Regions from separate parts of the Homo sapiens genome. Here region 1 is linked to region 2. Evidence: promoter capture Hi-C in 16 types of primary human blood cells and fetal thymus (Javierre and others, 2016). All regions are on one chromosome and are shown on one strand. The core of a region is centred on a gene start or on the middle of the fragment in contact, and the rest is flanking DNA. Distances in the headings are between cores, read along the strand shown.

The links. The method cuts DNA at HindIII sites, captures the fragments that hold promoters and counts their contacts. A CHiCAGO score of 5 or more calls a contact.
Region 1: a contact is called between a fragment that was not itself captured here and the fragment with the promoter of MED19 in region 2, in 1 of 17 cell types (non-activated CD4 T cells). The highest score is 5.0, in non-activated CD4 T cells.

The regions. Positions count from the first base shown.
Region 1 is chr11:58,718,056-58,724,257 of GRCh38, forward strand. All of the region lies in intron 2 of GLYAT (glycine-N-acyltransferase), which reads right to left. Among named protein-coding and RNA genes, the nearest start is that of GLYAT, 11 kb to the right of the region's middle. The HindIII fragment of the contact is 2,383 bases long and covers 2,095-4,477 here.
Region 2 is chr11:57,707,588-57,713,745 of GRCh38, forward strand. It overlaps MED19 (mediator complex subunit 19), which reads right to left and starts at 4,628. Exons shown (of 5, transcript NM_001317078.4): 1 at 4,376-4,628. The coding sequence starts at 4,592. TMX2 (thioredoxin related transmembrane protein 2) reads left to right here and starts at 5,006. Exons shown (of 8, transcript NM_015959.4): 1 at 5,006-5,220. The coding sequence starts at 5,032. TMX2-CTNND1 (TMX2-CTNND1 readthrough (NMD candidate)) reads left to right here and starts at 4,936. Exons shown (of 21, transcript NR_037646.1): 1 at 4,936-5,220. RefSeq lists a silencer at 4,259-4,598. The HindIII fragment of the contact is 3,048 bases long and covers 2,944-5,991 here.

The DNA.
Region 1 (6,202 bases), core at 2,036-4,535, 1.0 Mb after region 2:
ACACAAAATATATGGACATTTTTTTCAAGGGCTTTATTGGCTCCAGAAGTCAAGTTTGATTTCTTAAAGGAAAGCAGTTAAAGCCTTAGTAAAATAACCAGTTTCTCCAATTGTTTCCTGTTACAAATGAAAACAGATTCTTATTGCACTTATGCAAATAAATGTATTACCATAAGTTAAGAATACTCACAATTTCCAAATTCTGGAGAAGTGAGGTAGAGAGAAACAAACATGCTCCAAAGTTTGTTCATAGGAGTATACTAAATTGTTAAAAGCTGTCAATAGCTCAAAAGAAAAGTTTTAAGACTGAAAATCAAAGGATCAGCAAACATTTTAAGTAAAATGTGAAAAAGATTGGTTCAGTCCATGTAGTTAATTCCTATTTTGCTTGATACTCATTAACATTTTATCTCTCTATGAGTCCTGAAAGTTTTTTCTCTATTCTGATGTCACAATCTCCAAAGTTATCAGAAACCTGCATTTAAGAGTACCTGTTGGAGTTTTATAGCTGATTATAAAACCACCTTCTAAAGAGGACCAACACAAGGCAACAATTTTCCATGGATGAAAAAAAGGTTTAAGGCAGCCATAGTCAAAAGACACAATTGACAAGAAAATTTATTACTTCTGTGGCACACAGTATCAGAAACCCACATTTAAGAGCACCTGTTGGAGTTTTATAGCTGATTATAAAACCACCTTCTAAAGATGACCAAAACAAGACAATAATTTTCCATGGATTAAAAAAAGGTTTAAGGCAGCCATTGTCAAAAGATACAATTGACAAGAAAATTTATTACCTCTGTGGCACACAATATGATTATTATTGATAATGTATACTAAATTATATTATAATTACAGGAGTTTCCCATAATTTTGGAACACATACCAATAACATATTTATACAAAGACAGCCCAAAGAAAACCAAACACCAATTCATATTTGGCAATGCCTTCTGTATAATTTTTATACCAAATAAGCCAAATTGTGTCATTTTTGTACTTAGGGGAACCTACTGTCTTAAAGAATTAATCAGGTCAGAAAAAGACATAATTTATAGTTCAATTTTGGAAAGTTGTCAAATGTAAGTTTAAAACACTTGAAATTACAAAATAGGATTATAGGTCATTTTAAAGTCATTTATTTAACTAAAGTGAAAGTCAAAGACTTCAAAAAACAGTGAAAACCTTCATTTTTTGAGAAAGGAAATTTAATTTTCTAAACAAGAAGCCCCAATAAAAACAGCATGAAGCTAATTACATTTGTTTTTCAAAATTTGTAAACAATCTATAAAATTTAATCTATATTATAAAATGTAACTTCCTTAAGCCTCTTATAACCTTTATTAAAGAGTTGGTTAATGCTTCAAGAGAGCCTTGTTAATCTGCCACAGGGGTCTATATGCTGGTTTTTCATCAGTGTTCCTTTGACATTAATGATTAATTTACGGAGAAATGAAACTTATTTTATCTTTCAAAATCAGGCATTACACTCTTACATGCCCAACTCCTCCATGATAGTCCCTGGGCCTTGAGGAGTTGAGTAGCTTTAATTTATTGCCCTGTGTCTCAGGAAGGCAGTTTATTTTGATTGGCATTTTCTACAGGGCCTGAAGATGAGGCTTTAATTGCTGTCAGTGTTTAAAATTTAGCAGGACTTGGTATGCTTTATAGATGCAGGAGTTAAAGCTCTGTGATTCAATGTTAGAAGGACTTTAAAAGCATATACAGGAAGATACATGGATGTAATAATCTTAATTAAAAAATTTTATCTCAGTTTTTTTCTAAGCAAATGAAAACTTAATATGATAACTTGATCATATAAACTTTTTAAATATAGAAATCCTCTTATTGTGACTTACACCGACTGTTCATGACATGCTTGGAATTTCTGGTTTGTCCTGAACATCCCTCTTTTTTAAACAACCACTTATTTTAGTTTAGGATTAAATTTACCACACAAGATTCTGTCTTATATAAAATTATTTCTCTTTAAGCTTTTTTACCTAAAAAAACCTTTGTTAAAAATAGCTTTTTCATATCTTTTTTTAGTCCTAGTCCCTTTTACCTTGTTTTATACATAACCTTTAAATAAGCTTTGAATTGGAAAAAAACTTGTTCACCTCTTTAAAAAACACACACACAGTTTTGTTTATTTTTTAGCAAGAATATTTTCCTACAATATATTTTTATGGGAAGATACCCAAATAATGAAATGTCTATTATTTAATTTAATATAATTTCATACTCTAAATTATGACCAATTTGCCTACAAATATTTATCCAATTACATTACCCCAATTATTTTAATTGTTTACCTGGATTATTTATGAAAACTGTGATATTCATGATTTAAAGTTATAAAACTGACATTGCAAGATTATAACTGAGACAGTGAAAACGGATTTGACCTAACTGACTCCATCTGGCTTTTAACGTCCAAGCTGTCCTCATTCATTCCTGGACGTAGGCCTAACTAACTTTGGGAGGAACTTGGTTTATAGTTTAGCTTTGAAACAAAGAGGATAACAGTCTTTTCCCCAAACAAACCTCCTTATTGACTGTGGACCAGACTGCCTAAACCCACAGGATTAGAAGTTATGGTGATCTTACTAAATTAAAGATGCAGCTATTTTCATTAAACCCATATCAATGCATTATTTATTAAAAATTACACAAGCAATGATTATCCTGTTTGGGGCTGGGTTCATAGTTATGTAACCTGTATGCCAAACATTGACAACTTATAGTATTTGGCAGGGATAAGTATGAAATTTGCTTGATTAATAAATGCAAACAAAATGTATGCTGGTAATTCTTAAGACATTTCTACTATTACTTTACCAAAAATTTTAAAGCTAGCTTATTTATTAAAGATTTTATTTAAGTTACATAAACTTGAAAAAGGATTTTAATAGTCTTTTCTTTTTTAGTATCGCATTTAAGCACTTTTGTTTTTTCTTTAAGTCAATTAATTAGAACACTTTATATATTTTTAGTAGTGAAATATTTTGTATACAATACATAAATACATATAAAGATGAATTAGGCATGCCAACGGAAGTACATTTTATAGATTTATAAAGATCACCCCACTTTTTTTTTCTATCTTAGAATTTCAGATTCTTGGTAACCTGTTTCAAAACCCTAGGCAGCTGTCAGAAAAATAGCCTTAAATTTGCACATTAAAGGAAACAACTCAGGTGAAAATCAAATAGTAAAATTTACAACATAAGGTACAGAGAGAAAAAGTCTGGTGATGATAGAAGGAGATGTTTTTATTTTTCTTTTAGCCAAATTAAAAATAAAATTAAACTTCATTTTTTTCTTAAATAACCACGTAGCCTTTGTTGCAATAACTATTTTAGTTAAAAAAAAATCAGGTGAAAACAGAATTCAGTCAACTGAGAAGGAAAACAAAACAAAACAAAAAAACTTTTGCTCGAAAATAGACAAGGTCTTAGGAGAGAAAAAGAAACAAAAATAAAAACATGAAGGCCTTCAAATACAAACATGCACACATGAACACATACACACATACATCTTGGATGTTAGCCTTTTAATTAAGCTGACTTTTAACAATTGAGCTCCTTAATTTTTTTAAAAAAATCTTATTACCATATTTCAGTTAGGACCAAATGCTGCTTTTTCAGAAGTACAGCCATTGCTCTTTCAGTTTGGTCTGGCTGGCAAAAAGGTGACCTTATAATGTAAATAAAGCCCCTTTAGTAGTTAAAATTCAAAATCTTTTTTTTTTCTCTTTTGCTAGCCATTTTCCTCCCACATCAGAGGTCTTGTTCCTCATAATTTAGAGTTCTCCTTTCAATTTGTCCAAGAAAAATACAAAGAACAAAAAAGTTAAGCAAAACTAACAATGATCACCCAAATTACATGATTTCTGAGCACCGTAAGTGTAAGCAGAAATTAACACCAGGTAGTTGTTAAATGCTAACTTTAGTTGTGTAAAAAGTAAAGTAGAGGTTCCTCTTCAAAGAGACCTTCCTCCCCATCTAATTAGGAATAAATAAACTTAATAATTTGACCAAATTTGGGGAGATCAGGGATTCTCTGGAGGGGATGCTCACAGACCTCAGCAAATTGTCCTATTAGTTTGAGCCATAAAGTCAGCCATACTGGTACCAAGCACCGATAGGAGATTTGTCAAAGGTCAGGGGCATCTCCACTCAGAATGCTCCCATGGTTACCAAAATCTAAACCCCAAAAATCAGAGACAGGTCTCAGTTAATTTAGAAAGTTCACTTTGCCAAGGTTGAGGATGTGCCACTGACACAGCCTCAGGAAGTTCTGATGCCATGTGCCCAAGGTGGTCAGGGCACACTTGGTTTTATATATTTTAGGGAGATATGAGGCCTCGATCAATATATGTAAGAAGTACTTTGGTTCGGTTTGGAAAGGTGGGACATATTGAAGAAGGGACATTTTGAAGCAATGGCAGGAAGACTTGAAGCAGGGAGAAAGCTTTCAGGTCACAGATATGTGAGACAAACAATTCATTCTTTTGAGTTTCTGATTAGCCTTTCCAAAGAGGCAATCAGATATGCATCTATCTTAGCAACTTTGAATAAATAGAATGGGAGGCAAGTTTGCCCTAAGCAGTTTCCAGCTTGAGTTTTCTTTAGTGATTTTGGGGGCCCAAGATATTTTCCTTTCACACTAGTGAACAGAACATAGCGAGGCAGCTGTTATCAGTTGAATCAGTTGTAGTGGACATCTTTATGCATTTTATATCTAACACTCAGAAGAATGGATGGACATTTTCTTAACTAGGCCTCAAGTAATTGTTGAGTAACAGTGAATTCTAGGTTAGACACCTCCATTAAAAGCAACTGGCATAAAAAATTTTAGAGTTCCATTAGGGGAAAATGTATGTCTTTTAGTATACAACAAAAGAGGAGGAATGCTATTTCCTCATGAAAGGGAGGAGTCATGAGGGCCTCCTTATCTCACCATAGAGGGGTCCCAAGAAGGAATCCTTGGGAAACACCTAGAGTTTTCTCAAAATGTTTAGGATCCACTTAACACAAGGAATAAGGAGAAATTTGAAGCACAAAATTCTACATCACAGAGTGTTGAACAAAATGTTTAGCCTAGAGAATTTTTAAGAGTAGCCACTAATCATAAAAATACCTCAACTAATTATACATACAGTGTCTTAACTAATATGCCTTCCAAAAAAAATGTTCTGTCTCTCTGGGAGGTTATTTATATCTTAAGGATTGTCATGTGAAGCCACTTAAATATTAGGTAATTTTGATTAATGTTAGTAGGAGCTTCAAGGTGGGTAACTTTAGATTTGGATTAGTTTACTTGAAGCTATACTGTGTTGTTAATAAATAAAGAATAAAGCTTGTTGTCTCAATGCATCTCTGATGAATGAAAATAAAACTATATAATCACAAATAAAAGAATGCTAATATTTTCTCCTTTATACTGAAAGAAGGGAATAACAAATCATTTAGGGAATGGGTAATTTGAATGTATTTACCTGAAATGTATGCACTATATAGGAATGTCTTCTAAAACAATACAAATGTAAAAATAATTGTCCACTAAAGAGATACACACACACATATACATGAACAATTGTACTTGGGTTCCATTGGAGTGAGCCATATCCATTTGGTTGCTAAATATATACATACAGACAAGAATCTGACTCTATCATTGGAACTGCTCTTGCATAGTTCTGGATGTAGGCATTTATATATATCCATTTATATATATATATTTATATTTGTTTTATTTAATTCTTAGACCTCTAATTATTAATACCAGGTTAAGAGAGATACTGGGAGCTAGCCCTAAAGTAACTCGACCTGCCTTCAATTCAGAGCAATTGGGAAATTTACATTAAAATAGAAATTGATCTGTTATTAATTTCAAAGAAGACTCATTCTAGTTAACCTCTCACTGGCAAGTGTCCTTTTGTAATAAACAAGTTAAACATTAATATGCAGCCTCAGCCAACTTTGTAGAACTCTGGGCAAATTTCAAATGTTATTATAAAATGCTTCTTGGAAAGGAGCAAGGAAGTAATTTTTTGAGTTAGCACAGAGCAAAAGGCAGTGTTTAGACTAAGGCATAACTATGTTCATATCATAGCATTGCAACTCAGTATTTGTGATATATTGAGAAAATCAGTTAACTGAGTCTTCATTTTCTTAACAGCAACATGGACATG
Region 2 (6,158 bases), core at 3,378-5,877:
ACTACCAAACAACTCAGAAGACTGAGCGAGGGTAATGGCAGGAGACCCAATGTCACAGTATCTCTCCTCATAACTCTGGGCACTGCCTCTTGCCATTACAATCTTCTGAATTTCCCCTGCTCTGCCAACTCTCCTCTGTCCAGATGGTTATCCTTAAGGCTCAGGTGAGAAGGCAGTCTGTGCTTTTTCTAAACTGTAACTTGAGAGTTCAAATTCCAGTTTTGACTATTCTACAAAGATTACTTTTTATATTTATTTATTTTTTGAGACAGTCTCGCTCTGTCACCCAGGCTGGAGTGTAATGGCACAATCTTAGCTCACTGCAATCTCTGCATCCTGGGCTCAAACTACTTTCCTGCCTCAGCCTCCCAGGTAGCTGGGACTACATGCATACACTGCCATGCTAGGCTAATTTTTGTATTTTTTGTAGAGACAGGGGTCTCCCTATGTTGCCCAGGCTGGTCTTGAACTCCTGGACTCAAGCTATCTGCCTGCCTCAGCCTCCCAAAGTGCTAGGATTACAGGCGTGAACCACCCTGCCCAACAAGATAAAAAAAAAAAAAATTGTTTTGAAATTCCAAATCTTGCCAACATCACTCAGGGCTTCTCTATTTCAATCCATGGCACCCACATGTTCCAGATATTTTTGGAAATCAGTACTCCTCAGTTCACAAATCTTAATGGTTTCTTTTTGCCCTCAGGAGAAAGCTCAAATTCCTTTGACTGGCACTCAAGGCTAATTACATCTTACTCCAACTTAGCTTTGGGGCCTCATCAACCACTACTCTCCTATGCAAAATTTCTGATCCATCCAAATGGATCTCCTTATCGCCTCAAAAAAACACCCCTCACATTATTTCATCTTAGGAAAATTCTTCCTAATTTTTCTTCACCAATATGGATTATTCAAGGTCTAGCTCAAGTGACATCTTATTCTCACTGTCATTCTGGATAGCAACACACTTTGAAAACCATTAGGTAGTTCTTAATATTGATGGCTAAGATATTGTTAATTGCTGTTGTGAGGCATGAGCACAAAATGAGATGGAGGTGACAGGAAATATAGTCACTATCCTTAAACCACAAATTTTACATTCCTAACTAAACTCCTTGAAAAGCAATGACCAGCATTACTAATCTCTCTCTCCATCTCACCCGCCTCATACACCCAGCATTTGCCCAGAACATATATTCAATATCTGTCAACTGACTGATACAAATAGCTACAATCAGAATAGGGAAGGCAAAAGAAAGATTAAAAGAAACCGCTGGTGGACATCAACCACTAACTAATCAAAGGGATGTCAACTTCTCCATGTTTCAGTTTTTTCAATTATAAAATGTAGACAGTAATGCTACCTCAAAGGGCTATTCTAAGTATTAAATACTACTTATATTAAATACTGCATGTAAGTGTGTTGTGAACTTCAAAGTACTATACCAATATTTGTTGCTATTTCCCTCAAGTCATGATGTGGAAATAAGACTTGAGACAATGAAAGGCATCTGGGAGGCTGGGCGCAGTGGCTCACGCCTGTAATCCTGGCACTCTGGGAGGCCAAGGTGGGCGGATCACCTGAGGTTGGGAGTTTGAGATCTGCCTGACCAACAGGGAGAAACCCTGTCTCCACTAAAAATAAAAAATTAGCTGGGTGTGGTGGCACATGCCTGTAATCCGAACTACTCGGGAGGCTGAGGCAGGAGAATCGCTTGAACCTGGGAGGCGGAGGTTGTGGTGAGCTGAGATTGTGCCATTGCACTCCAGCCTGGGCAACAAGAGCAAAACTCTGTTTAAAAAAAAAAAAAAAAGAGGCATCTTGGAGACCAAACATGTCCAAAATAACTCTTGATTTCCACCTCTTCAAACTTGTTCCTTCCTCATCTTCCAAGTCTCCGTACCCATACACCCAATTATTCAAGCCGAAAACTTAAAAAGGCATCAATTCCTCTATTTCCTTCACTTCTATATACAATATATATTTTTAATTGAGACAGGGTCTTCCTCTATCATCCAAGCTGGAGTGCAGTGGCACAATCATGGCTCACTGCAGCCTCAACTTCCTGGGCTCAAGTGATTTCTACCACCTCATCTTCCTAGGTAGCTGAGACTACAGGTGCATGCTGCTATCCCTAGCTAATTTATTTTTATTTTTTGTAGAGATGGGGTCTCATTATGTTGCCCAGGCTGGTCTCAAACTTTTGGGCTCAAGCAATCCTCCCACCTCAGCCTCCCAAAGTGCTGGGATTACTGGCGTGAGCCACAGCGCCTGGCCCTGTATTCAATTTTTCAACCCTGTCAGCTCTACCTCTAACATCCTGTATCCATTTACTTCTCTATGCCCTGCTATGCTCTGGTTCAAACCATTATCTTTCCTGGACTACTGAGCAGTAACTTCTGACTAATTTCCCCACTTTCTATTTGTCATGTGGCTGCTTAAATGATTATAAACAAGTGCATTTGACCAACTTCCTATGTTAAAATGGCTTTCCTTGGCTGGGCACAGTGGCTCAGACCTATAATCCTAGCACTTTGGGAGGCCAAGGCGGGAGGACTGCTGTTGGCCAGGAGTTCAAGACCAGCTTGCGCAACACAGTAAGACCCAGTCTCTACAAAAAAATTTTAAGTTAGCCAACTGTGGTGGTGCATGCCTGTAGTCCTAGCTACTTGGAAGGCTGAGGTGGGACGACAGCATGAGCCTAGGAACTGGAGGTTACAGTGAGCTATGATTATACCACTGCAGTCCAGCCTGGGTGACACAGTGAGACCTTGTGTCTATAAAAAAATTTTTTAAATGGCTTCCTTTTGTATTTACAATCTAAATGCCTTTACTGCTTTATAAAAGCCTCTGCCTAACTCTCCCAGCTTCATCTCTCTCCCTAACACTCTTTCCTTTTGTTCACTTCACTGGAGTCCAACTGATTTTCTGTCCCTCAGATATTCTAAGCTTTTTCTCACATCAGGGTTTCTGACCTCATTTCTTGTATCTACAATTGTCTCTCCCTCCTGTCCATACATGGCTGGCCCTTTGTCTATGCTTACATTTTAGTTCAAATGTTAGCTATGTGAAGAGAGCATCTCTGGCCACTCTAGCTAAAGTAGTTCTGCCCCTCAATTTTTTTTTTTTAAGAGACAGGGTCTCATCTGTTGCCCAGGCTGGAGTGCAGTGGCACAATCTTGGTTCACTGCAGCCTCGACCTCCTGTGTTCAAGCGATTCTCCTCCCTTAGCCTCCTGAGTAGCTGGGGCTACAGGCATGCATTACCACGCCCGGTTAATCTTGTATATTTTGTAGAGACTGGGTCTCGCCATGTTGCCCATGCTGGTCTCAAACTCCTGGGCTCAAGGGATTCTGCCTCGGCCTCCCAAAGCGCTGGGATTACAGGCGTGAGCAACGCGCCTGGCCACCTTCAATTTTTATCATGTTTTCTTTTCCTAGCATTAACCACTTTCTGACATTATCTTGTTTACAATGCCTCCTCCACTGAAATGTACATCCCAAAAAAGGCAAGCATCTTGTCAGTCTTGTTCACAACTGTCTCCAGCATTTAGAAAAGTGCTTGGTACATAGGTACTCAACAAAATAATTTTTTGAATGAAGAGTTTGGTTCGATTCTTATCCCTTTTTTGATCAGACCAGGAAATGCCGGAACCTTAGAAGGAAGAATGGCAACTTGCCCCAAACCAATAGCAAGTCTGTGGGAGACCTGTAACTAAAACTTTGGGTCCCCAAAGATATTAAATCAGGCCTCTCGAGTTCCAAACTCAAACCCTGGATTTTGTTTGTTTTGAGACGGAGTCTCGTTCGCCCAGGCTGGAGTGCAGTGGAGCAATGTCGGCTCTCTGCAACCTCCGCCTCCCGGGGTTCAAACGATTCTCCCGCCTCAGCCTCCCGAGTAGCTGGAATTAAAGGTATACGCCACCACGCCCAGGTAATTTTTGTGTTTTTTGTGGAGACAGGGTTTCATCATGTTGGCCAGGCCGGTCTCGAACTCCTGACCTTAGGTGATTCGCCCGCCTCCGCCTCCCAGAGTGTTGGGATTACAGGCGTGAGCCACCGCGCCCAGCCCTAGGTCATTTTTTAGAGAGACATAAACCAGTGTCAGGGACACAGCCTGGACATGGTGCAAAAGACAGTAACGGAGATGCACTACGCCCCTGCCCGCCATTCATCCCTTTGGTTGAATTCAACTCATCCTGGTTGAATTCAAGTCATCCCTCTGCTTGTGAATCCTAACAGCGCTTCCGACTTAGGGCTCCACAGTCCGGGTATGCGTTGCCTAGGTTACCTCGCACCTCCGCTAGCCGGCTGAGAGCCACGCCCATCACCTCCTCTCTAAGATTTGATTGGCTGGCTTTGGCAAGGCCGAGTACTCACCTGGCAGTTCCCTCATGAGGTAAAAAGGGCCACAGCCAGCTCCTGACTTGTCCGCGCCAGGAGGAGCCGTGGCCGCGGTGGGAGGCGGGGCCGTGCCGGGTCCCCCGCCCGCAGGAGGCGGTGGCGGGGGTGGAGGCTTTCCTGGTCCGAAGCCGAGTGCGGTTGGGGGCGGTGGTGGGTCAGCCTGAGCCCCAAACAGTGCCGTGAAATTCTCCATCGTACCCTCCGCCCCGGCGCTGTCTCCGTGTCTGCCGTTGGTAATTTTCATTGGACAATGCTTTCAAGGAGTACCCCCCCGCCCTTTCTCAAGGAGCCGCTTGTCATTGGATGCCTCAGGCACCGCCTACCTTTTTTCAACAACTACTTCCGTCGCCTTATGAGAACGTTCAGGAAGTGCTATTTAACCTTATTAGAGTCTTCTGCTAGCTCTGCTTGCTACAGTCCAATAAAATGACTTAGGCGGATAAAGCGACAACTAGACTAACCAATAAAATATTAAGTTCTTTTTTGGGTTCTGACCTACCACAGCGTTCAGAGAACTACATCCGGGTTTAGAGGCCGTACGTTTGCGATATAGCCCAATAGCAGTCGTTATGGTGGGGGAGGCGGGGCGAGACCTACGACGCCGGCGAGCAGTGGCCGTTACGGCCGAAAAGATGGCGGTCTTGGCACCTCTAATTGCTCTCGTGTATTCGGTGCCGCGACTTTCACGATGGCTCGCCCAACCTTACTACCTTCTGTCGGCCCTGCTCTCTGCTGCCTTCCTACTCGTGAGGAAACTGCCGCCGCTCTGCCACGGTCTGCCCACCCAACGCGAAGACGGTAACCCGTGTGACTTTGACTGGGTGAGCCTCCCGCGTGTTAGTACCCCGCGACCTTGACTGTCCCTGCCCTTGCAGGTGTATCTGGGAACCCTGGGGTTTACCTCTCTGAGGACACCTGAGGTTCCGAGCCTGTAGCGGACTTAGAGACTATTAAGTGCAGGGTCCGAACCATCATCGAGTCTAAACTTTGTGTTTAAGATGGGAAAACGGAACATGTTAGTCGTAGCCCATGCACAACGGCCCAACAGCTTTTGACTGTTGAGTCCAGGTTTCTTTCTGTTTCACCATTGAGACTAATTAACAGCCCTATCAAAACTGTACATACACGTGTATAACGTTTTACAGTGCCGCTCATTATGTAAAGCCTCCTGAGGAGCCAGTAAGGTAGACAAGGCAAGTAGTAATATTCCTGTTTCATTGGTGAAGAAATGGATCTCGGTATATTTAGGTGACTTGCCCCAGGTCATACAACTAATGAGTGCCTGGGACTTGAAACTACTCTTCTGGCCACACTACCTGCACAACACTGTCAGCCGCTTCTTAATTCAATAAACATTTCTAGAGTGTACACTCTAGGCACTCTGCTTGATCCTGAAGATGCGAAAGTGGATAAAATTTGGGGGCTACTGTAAAGGAATTGTAAAAAATACGTTGTAAAGAAATCTTTGGGATTTCTTTGGGAAGTGTCCCAAGCTCCTTGCTGTGCTTCCTTGGTATGGGTGGAGGGACTGCTCGGAACATAAACTTAAAGCACTTTCCCTTCTGCCATATAGCATGTAGGGGCCAAGGAAAAGCTTCCCCTTTGCTCTCTGAGGGTTTGTTGAAAAATCAACCGACAAAGGGCACATTAATAGGAGAAAGGCATAGAAATTTTATTTTAACGTGCATAGCATGAGGGAATTGCAGGAGAATGACCCAGTGGGGTACAGATGCTTATATACCCTCTTTCATAGGAATAT